Regions from separate parts of the Homo sapiens genome. Here region 2 is linked to region 1. Evidence: promoter capture Hi-C in human tissues and cell types (Jung and others, 2019). All regions are on one chromosome and are shown on one strand. Each heading gives the region's core, a stretch centred on a gene start or on the middle of the fragment in contact. The rest is flanking DNA. Distances are from core to core; before and after follow the strand shown. Region 1 holds the start of ARAP3 (ArfGAP with RhoGAP domain, ankyrin repeat and PH domain 3). Region 2 has its middle 26 kb from the start of LINC01844.

Region 1 (5,676 bases), core at 995-3,494:
TCATATTACAATATTGCAGATCTTTTGAAATACCATTTATGCTCATCACTGCATCAAAGTTATGTGAGGTATCAACCTACCACTAGATCTTATTTAAAGCATTAATAAAGAAGCACATATATTACTATATCACATCGGTTTTATATGTGTATTACAACATAATTGGTTTCCTTTGCAATCCTATATATTTTATTTTATGCATTTTAAAATATTATTCTGAGATGAGACCACATACTTTACCGTATTGCCAAAGGAGAACATGGCACAAAAAGGTTCAGAACTCTTGCATCTAGCCCCTGACCCAAACTCCCCGGCATCCATTCCTCAAAACTCCCTGTGCCCTTTACTGTCTTTTCCTGCTCCCTTATTTTGCTGGGTTAGTCTGAGTCCTTAAAGAAGAAGCTGCCAAGGCAGAATGCAAGGATTTGACTAGGGGAGATGCCTGTGAGAGAGGAAGGGAGCCTGGAGCTAGGAGAGCTGTGAAGGAGAGAGGGAAGGAATAAAGGTTGAGAGGAGCATCCTAAAACACCAGTCAAAGGAAAGTTCAGCAAAGCCATTGGGAAATCTTGATCCAAAGTCAGCTGTCAAAGGAGTCCCCTATCTCCCAGGAATGGGTCTGCCTTAGATCTCTGCTGAGCTCTGTCACTGGCTGGGAGCAGCCCAGTGGGAAGCTGGCCTTAGATTTCAGAGAGAAGCAGCTGGGGCCATTGGTTAATTTCACTCCTCACAGTGTAAGATCTGTGAGGAGCATTCTCACTGCCACCACAGTTGCCCATCTGAAAAAAAGGACATGGTGCAGGGGTCCTGTCCAGGGTGGTAGGTGAGCATGGTAGTTATAGATATAGACTTGGAGGGTTGGCTATTTTCTAGCTGCAGAGTCTTGAGCAAGTTATTTAATGCTCCCTGTCTCCTTATATGTAAAATAGAGGTGATAAAATTTCCTATTTGTAGGGATATTTGTGAGGATTAAAGTTTGCAAAGCAATGTTTACATAGATCCTGGAGCACGGTCAGCTCTCAATAATTGGTAGCCCTTATTATGGCTATTGCAATTATTATTTTATTACTATAATTCTCTTTCTCAAAGGGAAGGCCGGGAAAGTGGGGCTCCAGTAGGTTGAAGATGACAGTCCCTCCCCTAGCTGAGGCAGCTGGAAGAGGTGGGAACCACTTCCTCCCACTCCCCTCTTCTTCCCCTGAGGCAGGGGTCTTCCCCTAGCTACTGACAGTTCCTGTGTCTGCTGACTCACAGCCAACTTCCTCTCATACAAACAGGAAAACACAGCCGGCCAGCGCCCCCGCCACCCCCAACACATACACACACACACACACACACACACACACACACACACACACACACACACACACAAACACCCCCCCCCCACACCCAAACACTGGTCCTGCTCAGAGAGGGAAGTGCCTCCGCCCCTGGGAGACAGGCTCCAGGACCGGGGTTCCGGCAAGATTAGCGAAGGAGAGAAGGGCCATTCCTCTTCAGGCCTCCCCGGCATCCCCCCTGAAATTTTAGGGTGGGAGTTGGGGAGAAGGGGCGGCTTCTCCCATGAATGAAACAGCTGCTTGCTTGGTCACTGAGCTTGCAGGGCGTCCGCCTGTCCCAAAAAGGCAGCCCCAAACCTTGGTTTGGAAGTAGGGATGTGCCTTGCGGACCTTCATCCCTCGAAGGAACCTAGGCCGGGCCCTTGGGGATGGAAGTGGGGAGAAACAGACGGGTACCCCTCTGCTGGGCCTCTGCGCTTGTTGCCCAGGCCAAGTCTCAATTCTGGATGTCCAGCTTCCGTCCCCACACTAAACTGGTTGCCAGGGTCCAGCCACCCTTCCGGGCGTGGGAGAGGTGCCCTGGGGGATTAGGGCTCGACCTTTCCTCCTCCCTTTTGGCAGGACTGGAGGGCATGGGAGCAGCGGAGAGGATGCAAAGCCGTCCCTGGCACTCTCCCTTTCTCAGTTTCTACCTCCGTCCCAGTCTCCGTCCCGGTCTCTGCCTCTTTGTCCCTCTCCCTGAGGTTGTCTTCGTCCCAACGTGTTCTGGTCCTTTCTCGGCCTGCGAGAGGGCAGACTGGGGGCAGACTCGGAGATAAGCGCGGCGGTTGGGCAAGAAGCCCAAACCCTTTGGAGGCCTGCGCTTGCACAAGGAGTGGCCGGGGCCCCGCGGAGGGAACCGGCCGGGCGGGGCGGGGCTGGGCCCGTCGAGGGAGGGCAGAGGGGAGGCGGGGCCGGCGCGGCGGGACCCAGAACCTCGGACGAGCGGCGGGCACCCGCGAGCGGACGGCGGCCGCGTAGTGAGGTGAGGACCCCCGCGCCCCCCGGGTCCCTGCTTCCCAGACTCCTCCCCATCACCTTCTCGAGGGCCTTCGTGGGCTCCCAGGCCCCCTCGGCGCCGGCGGCCCTCCCCATCCCTGCCACGACCCGCCCCTCCCTCCTGCTGCCCGGCCTCTGCCCCATCCCTCCTCGCCCCCTCCCTCGTCGCAGCCTGCGCTGCCCGCCACTGCCCGCCCCGCCCCCGCCACTCCTGTCCCGCGAGCACCTCAGCTCCCAGCCCCGTGCTGTCGAGCCCGGCCTGAGTCACCGGGAAACCGGGCCCTGAGTCAGGGCCCGAGGCTCAGCACGCGGGCCCTGGCTTGGGAATGAGGCCCAGCTGGAGAGAGGCAGAGGGAGGCCAGCAGTGATGCTGGGACGGAGAGGGCGTCCTGGTCACCGACAGAGCACAAGAGTAACAGGGAGAGAGCCTAGGCCGAGGCGGAAGACAGAAACCCAGGCTCAGAGGCAGACAGAGACACAGATACAACTCAAGATCTGGTTAGAATTGTAGACTGAGTCAAGGACAAGCTTAATAACAGAGAGCAAAACAGGGTGGGACAAGGAGAGGGACAAAGAAGAATTGAGAGGTTGAGATGGAATGGGGCAGGGACAGTGACAAGGCAGAGATAAAACTCAGGGGCCACAGAATTAGAGACAGGTCTATGAAATAGACCAGGGTCAGGGTCGGGGTCAGGCTGGTGGAAGGGGGACAGAGCACAGAGACCTGAGCCCAAGGGAATGAGCAGGGAAAAGGCAAGCTCAGAAAAGGAAGGCTTGGAGAAAGCAGAGGTGGGGGGATGGCATTTCACACTGCCAAATCGCTACAGGGCATGTGCACACACAGGTGAACAGCATGTGAACATGCTGCCGGTGGGCAGAGAGTCCAGAAGCCTCTGGAGTACCCCTGACCAGAGGTCAGGCCTCATCTCTCTGGCATCCCCATCCTTATTCTTCAATTAGCCTCCACCCAGGGCCGGGACCCCACACATTAGGACTGGTTAGGGCTCTCCCGGCAGCCTGACCAAAGCAGGCAGGATGTGGAGGCGGCCAGGGCTGGAGGGACAGGAAGGAAGTCTGAGCAGAGACAATAGGTGGAAGGGGAGGAGGGACTGGGAACAACCAGGATTAGGACGGCAGGCCTGCATACATCGGCTCTGGAAACAAGAGGGAGGGGGCGTCTGCACCTCCTTCCTCCTATCTAGGCTGCCCCTCTCCCTACCTTACTCCAGAGCTGATTGGCCACATCATTGGCCCCTCCTCTGCATCTCCCTATCCCACTCTGACCCACAGCATTCTAGCATCTTGTCCCATGCTTACTCAGTTGGATGTGCAGTCAGGCAGGAGCAGAGCTTTGACCCAGACCCAGGGTGGGCAGGAACTGAGGGGCCAACTCTAGCACTGACTTACTGTGAACCTGGGGCAAGCCCCTTCCCCTCTCTGGGCCTCAGTTTCCTTAACTTCAAATGAAGTCCCTTCCCTAAGTAGAGAGCCATTGCTGTTGTTCTGGGATGGCTCTGCTTCCAGATCGCAGGCCTTTCAGCATCTTTCTTTGGAGGAAGATTGGAGGCTGGTGCTCACTGTCCAGGCCTCAGACTCTGGGGCAGAGAGGGGGATTCTCAGCCTGAGCCCTCCCTTCACCCTGCCCCTCCCCCCAGCAATGGCCTGAGCCCCCATGGCTGCCCCTCAGGACCTGGACATCGCTGTGTGGCTGGCCACGGTGCACCTGGAGCAGTATGCAGACACGTTCCGACGGCATGGCCTGGCTACAGCAGGTGCAGCCCGGGGCCTGGGCCACGAGGAGTTGAAGCAGTTGGGCATCAGCGCCACAGGGCACCGGAAACGCATTCTACGCCTGCTACAGACAGGCACCGAAGAGGGCTCCCTGGATCCCAAATCAGATAGTGCCATGGAACCATCCCCCAGCCCAGCCCCGCAAGCCCAGCCCCCTAAGCCCGTGCCGAAGCCCAGGACCGTGTTTGGTGGACTCAGTGGCCCTGCCACCACTCAGAGACCTGGGCTGAGCCCAGCCCTCGGGGGACCAGGAGTGTCCAGGAGCCCAGAGCCCAGCCCAAGGCCTCCTCCTCTCCCCACTTCCTCCTCTGAGCAGTCTTCAGCCCTAAATACTGTGGAGATGATGCCTAATTCCATCTACTTCGGCCTGGACTCAAGAGGCAGGGCACAGGCAGCTCAGGACAAGTGAGTGGAGTTGGCTCCCTAGGGACTGATGCTGGGAGGAGTGGGGAGGAGAGCATGAGGGGGACGGAGGCGGGGAGCAGGGCATGAAGGCTTGTTCTTCCTCCTCTCTCCTTAAGTAACCAATAGACCTTTCCCTTCAGGGCCCCAGACAGCTCCCAAATCTCTGCCCCCACCCCTGCCCTCAGGCCCACAACAGGCACAGGTAACTGGGTTATCACGGGTTGGGGGAGAGGGATAGTGCCGGCAGGACCTCATACACTCCCAGCGATCTCCTCTTCCTTGTGCGTTCCCCTCTCCTCCTGCCAGTGCACATCATGGATCCTGGTTGCCTGTACTATGGTGTCCAACCTGTGGGGACTCCAGGAGCCCCCGACAGAAGAGAGAGCAGAGGTGTTTGTCAGGGCAGGGCTGAACACAGGTGAGTACTAAATAGGGAAGTGGTGGGAGGGAGGAGCAGGTGAGTCGGTGGCGGCCATGTATCCAGTTATTCAACAAATGTGCATTGAGTATTCACCAGCCAGGCACTCAAGATACAGGATGAGTATCACAGACCTAGTGCCACCCTCAGGCAGCTTGTGACTCAGTGGGACAGACAGGGAATAAAACAAGTAGACAAACCAATGGTCATATAATGGAAAATTGGGAGAAGTGCTTTTCTTTCTTTCTTTCTTTTTGAGACGGAGTCTTGCCTTGTTGCCCAGATTGGAGTGCAGTGGCACAATCTCGGCTCACTGCAACCTCCCCCTCCTGGGTTCAAGCGATTCTCCTGTCTCAGGCTCCCGAGTAGCTGGGATTACAGGTGCGTGCCACCATGCCCGGCTAATTTTTATATTTTTAGTAGAGATGGGGTTTCGCCATGTTGGCCAGGCTGGTCTCGAACTCCTGACCTCAGGTGATCCTACCTCCTTGGCCTCCCAAAGTGCTGGGATTACAGGCATGAGCCACTGTGCCCAACCAGGAGAAGTGCTTTTCATTTTTTCATTCAACAAATATTTATTGAGCAACTATCATGCACCGGATGTAGATGCTTGGGATAGATCAGCGTACACAGAAATCCCTGCCCTTGTGGGGAGATAGTCTATTAACAATAAACATAATACATTAAATACTATAGAACGTTAAAAGGTATTAAGTGCCATGGAAAAAATAGAGCAGAGTAAGAGGG
Region 2 (5,328 bases), core at 970-3,469, 1.0 Mb before region 1:
GTTCAAGACCAGCCTGGCCAATGTGGTGAAACCCCGTTTCTACTAAAAATACAAAAAAATTAGCCAGGCATGGTGGCAGGCGCCTGAAATCCCAGCTACTCTGGAGGCTGAGGCAGGAGAATCGCTTGAACCCGGGAGGCAGAGGTTGTGGTGAGCCGAGAACATGCCATTGCACTCCAGCCTGGGTGACAAGAGTGAAACTCCATCCATCCACACCCTAGATAGAGCTGTCTATATAGTGGGTCTGGGGTATGGCCAAGGGACCTGCATTTTTAACAAGTACCTCAGGGGATTGGAGGCAGCCGGTCAGGGGACCACCCCGTGAGCTGGTTAATAATGCAGGTGTTTGGGGCTGGCCACACACCTACTGAATCAGAATTGGCAGCCCTGTGTGTGTCATATTCCTCCAGAAAAGCCCAGCACAGTGCTGAGTTTGGGACCCACTGCTGCAGAAAGCTCATTCCAGAAAAAATAAGCCAGGCTTACACTTTTAAGGTCCCCTTTCTCTCTGGCCACTTATAACTGCCCGAAAATCAAGGCACATTATTGCTGGCACAGAAACTGAAGGAAAACTTGCACGTGCCCCAGCAGCTGAGATCCTTAAACAAAAAGGACTACAGAAATGACAAGCATGATTGTAAGAACTGTACGCAGCTTTTCTTTCTTTTCCTGAGTATGGTAGGAATCTCCAAGGTGAATGTGGCCTCCTGGAACTACCCACCTGGCTGGAAGACTGTCCTGCTCTGTGCTATTTGGGAGTAAGCAAGGCAGCCGCAGCCATATCTGCCTGTCATCCAGGAGCCGGCGTGGCTGGCATGAGTCCTGAGTGGCTGCATATCACCACCAGATGGACTCCTCCATGCCAGGTGCCAGGTTGCTGCAGCTGCCGGGGAGTGTTCCATCAGCAGGACTGTCTGCACCTGGACAGAATGATGTAACCTACAGGAACGCAAGATTCACAGGCGTGCAGACAAGCCTCAGAAAATTATCAGCCTCAGCTCCGAGTTACGGCTGATTCAGCTGCAGTCTCTGTGGTCAGACTTGCCTGTTGAGGCAGGCTGCTTCTCCGGTGGACTGGATGGCGTCACTTGGAATTTATATTAAAGCTGAAGTCTCCCTCAAACTAATGTAACCCTTATTTCCCAGTCCTCGTAAGACAAGTGGAAATCATGGGCCAGGCTTAAGCTTAGCTGATGATCTGATCTCCCAACTGCATTGGGTGCCGCTGGGGTCACCTAAGCCATTGCTCCCTTTCACTCCTTCAGTAAACATTTACTAAGTGTCAGAAATGATAGTAATCGCAAACATTGTCTGAATGATTGCTGGGGTCAGGCATTGTGCTAGACTTGGCACCAGCATCTTCTTATTCAGTACTCACTAAGCTGAATAAGTTTGAGTTCATTTCACAGGTGAGGAAACTCAGCTTCCCAGAGGCAAAGCAGCCTGCCTAAGGCCCCACAAATAATGAGGGGTAGAGCCTCTCATCCATCCACTTCAACAACAAGCCTTACCCTCTCTGTGGGGTCTTCCCCATGGCCTGACACTGAGCGTGTAGACACTGAATCAACACACACAATGTCAGGTCATGATTCCCCAGCCCCTCTGACTGGTCCCTTCCTCCTATCCATCAGCTGTCTCAGGTAGGCTCAACCCTACCATCCCAGGCTCCTTCCTCCTGCCTTATCGCCACTCTGCTGACCTTCCCTGCACCCCTCTGACTTCTAATGCCTGGCCTCTTGAACCTGGTGTTCCTCAGAGTTCTTTGAGACTTAGCCCCCAGGACGTTTCTCCCAGGAAGTCTTCCCTGACCCACCCCTCCTCCACATTTATGACTCCATTATATGATCGCAGTGCATACCAAAGATGCCTTTGTCTCAACATAACATCCCATATTAGGTTGAAATTTTTGGTTTCTATCTGTCAGTATCTTTTATTAAAATGGAGTTTCATGAAATGGGACAGCTGGCACCAGCACGATGCATGGCGCACGGCGGGTCCTCCATGGATGCTTGCTAGACTGAGCACAGCTGACTCACAGGCCTCAGGCACCAGGGCACGGGCAATAAAGACAGTGAACCTAATATTTTAACACAAGAAGGAAAATACAACCTCACAAATGTCACTCATACTTGGAAGAGGGAAAAACACAACTGAAATATGGTCACCAAAGAATATAGGGAAGGATATAACACACAGGCTGAACTCACGACCCTGTAGTCTGACCACCTGGGCTTCGGTCTTGGCTCCCCCACTTAAAACTAGTGAGATTTGGAGCAAGTTGTTTTCCCTCTCTGTACCTCAGTTCTCTCATCTATAGAGTGGGAGTAGATAATCTTACAGGGTTGTATGAGGATGAGATAATTCGTGTGCAGTGTTGAAAACAGTACGTTGTTCATGTTTGGATGTTATCATATTTTTTGTTCATAATAAATGGATTTACTAGAAAGGGGTGAGGGAGGAAACTAAGAAGAAACAATGGTCATAATATTTTTGATTAAGAGTATGGTACAAACCCTCAGGTCCAATTTTTTAAAATGCAGGTCAGAAGTTACCACCCAAAGGTGTACAGATTTTTTTAAATTTTCAATGAGCTGCCTATTTAAAAATGAAGAAATTTTACATTATGAGAAAGAAATCCAGACATCCAATTTCTGTCGAAAAACTGGATGACTTCGCAACTCAGCTTCTACTTGCCCCCGGTAATAATTGTCGGGATTTGTGTATCACTGCCCACTTCAGGGTGGACACGTGCTCTCCAGCTCACGCGACCCCTCCAGGCCCTCCAGCTTCTTACCTGGCCTGCTTCATGCTATAGGCATTTGAGTTTGTGACCTCAGGAAGAGAAGATGTCTTCACAATAACAATATACACAGTTTTCCTCTGCTCAGAACCTATCACACCTCTTTGGTACATCTATCATAAAACTCAGACTTTAACTGCTCCCTCCTCCATCTGGGAGCCCATCTTGCCTCACTTCCTATGACTCCCCATCCATCCTCCCTCCCCACCAGGCTGCCCCCGGCCCCCCTCCCACCCCAGCTCCTCCCTGCTATGGGGCTGGCATGGCCTCTCCGTCCCCTCTGCTTTCCCAAGTCCCCGTGCCCTGTGAAGGTTTAGCTCGTGTCCAGACACCCTAATGAGCTTCTTCCCCACTCCCTAGCCCACGGGTGGTCTCCCTTTTCCAGGCTTGCACTGCCCTTCGGACAAGGGTAACTACTATTACAGTACGGCTGTGTCTTCTTAGTCTTTACTCTGAGAAGAAGCCTGTTCTTATCTATGCAGTTTCTCTCCTTTTCCCCTGCCCCTTGGGGCTTCTGTCCTTGCTGGGCCTGTTCCTGAAATTTTGTGATTTACAACAAAACCAGAACGGGAGGGGGAGAGATTGGAAAAGAGGTATGGGAGGTAAGGGGAAAAGGAAATGAAAACAAGGGCAAACTGAGGGTGTGCTGTTGAGAGTGAAAAAGAAGGCAGGGGGCCCTGCAACAGCAGCTGGGTGGGAGGGAATGGGAGATGAAGCCGGGGAGGGGACGTGTGCAGCATTGCACGGCTCCCAGCTTCCTTGTATTTACCCATGCTGTCAGAACCATGTCGTGTGCCCCCTTTGGTCTGTTTTCAGGCGGCAACCCTGCATTTCATGGAGGACTGGAAGCTCTGTGAGGGCTGACAAATTATTATTTAGTGACCCTTACATCCCTCAGAGCCTTCGGCCCAGGGCTGAGCCCAGGGACTGCACACGTTCATGCAGAATGACTGACCTCAGTATCCCCAGGTGTCCTCAGGCAAATGACCTGAAGAAGACACTGAGCATCAAGAATGTAGCCTCTTCGATTTCACCTCCTGGCAGAAGTGTGATGAGATCAGATACCACCATGGTTTTGCGTCCCAGAGAATAACCAGGAAGATGCTCTGGAGGAGAGAATAGCAGTTCTCGAGCGAGAGCTCACATGGAAATCACCTGGGAGGGGAGGGGTCTTGTTAAACCAGAGATTGCTGGGCTCCACCCCCAGAGCTTCGGATTCAGCAGGTCTGGGCTAGGACCCCAGAATGTGCTTTTCTAACAACTTCCCAGTTGACGGGGATACGGTTGGTCGGGGAGCCACACTTCGAGCAACCCAGCTCTAGAGTTCAGGGCTGAGGTCTGATCCAAAGCCACTTCATCCCACCACTCTACAGAAGGAAAGTGACATCCCCTCCCTCTCTAGCAGGTGACTGTCCCCTCTTCATAATCCAGCACATCACTCAACCCACTTCGGAGCTTTATGGAGACTATAGATGCTCATGGCTGAGTGGAGGGTGTCCTCTTGTGGCCCAGATAGAAAATAACCTGAACTGCAGTGACCTCACTCTCAGCCTTAACAAAGTTTGCCAAACATTGAATTTTATCTGCCTGACAAAAGATCCAGGGAAACAGGATGTTCACCATTCACCGGATCTGGTCCATTGCAGAGGAGGGGCCAAGGGTCCATTCAGCATGAGATGGGTCAAATACTTTGCCCAAAAGGTGTCCAAGGATGGCAGAAATGATTTGTACTCATGACTTTGGGATTTTATAGGGTGGGAAGGTGTCTTAGGAGAATAGTCCAAACCCAGATACTCACAGAATTCTCTGTTGAAGGATACAACTTTGAAAACATGAGTTAGAAGTAAACAATTTCAAAGCCTTGGAAACACCATGTGACTAAGAAGAGACCTTAGAATGACTTTGAACCATGTTTGGATTTGTTCCCTGAACTTTCCTGAGATGAGAAAGCTGGCATCATGAACTGTGGGCTAGTGTAAGAACACTGGAGCAATTGTCACCAGCTCCATCACCAACCAATCTGGTGCAAGCCAGCCCCTTCTCAGCATTTAGCAGCCGTCCAAATACCGTTCTGCGATTCACTGCCACCTACTGCTCAGCCCGGAATGAGCAGGAGTTGGTAACTAGGACACAGGGGCAGTGGAGCGGCGCTTCTCAGAAGTTTGGCTTGTATTAGAATCACCTGGAAGGCTTGTGAAAATGTAGATATAGGGGCTTCACCCCCAGAGATCTGACTCAGTAGGATTGGGGTAGGCCTGAGAATTTGCTCTTCTAGTAAATTCTGGGTGACGCCAAGGCTGCTGGCCAGGAGATGCCTCTTTGGATAACATTTGTAATCCTCCTTCTACCACACACTCGCTGAGCTTGATTATTAATCAGTCACATCTGTAAGTGATCAAGAGCCACTAATTCAGGATGTCTCAACCTGGGTCCGATTGACATTTTGACGTGGCAATTCTTTGTTGTGGGGGTAGTTTGTCCTGTACACTGTAGGATTTTAGCAGTATCCCTGGCCTCCACCTACTTGA

The links. Contacts are between HindIII fragments. The study calls those that stand out against the background at their distance.
Region 2: a contact is called between a fragment that was not itself captured here and the fragment with the promoter of ARAP3 in region 1, in 1 of the 25 tissues and cell types used here (neural progenitor cells).

Annotation. Positions count from the first base shown.
Region 1 is chr5:141,678,798-141,684,473 of GRCh38, reverse strand. It overlaps ARAP3 (ArfGAP with RhoGAP domain, ankyrin repeat and PH domain 3), which reads left to right and starts at 2,244. Exons shown (of 33, transcript NM_022481.6): 1 at 2,244-2,301; 2 at 3,971-4,511; 3 at 4,652-4,713; 4 at 4,818-4,929. The coding sequence starts at 3,988. RefSeq lists a silencer at 2,195-2,244. The HindIII fragment of the contact is 12,570 bases long and covers 1-5,676 here.
Region 2 is chr5:142,716,694-142,722,021 of GRCh38, reverse strand. No RefSeq gene overlaps it. Among named protein-coding and RNA genes, the nearest start is that of LINC01844, 26 kb to the left of the region's middle. The HindIII fragment of the contact is 3,753 bases long and covers 343-4,095 here.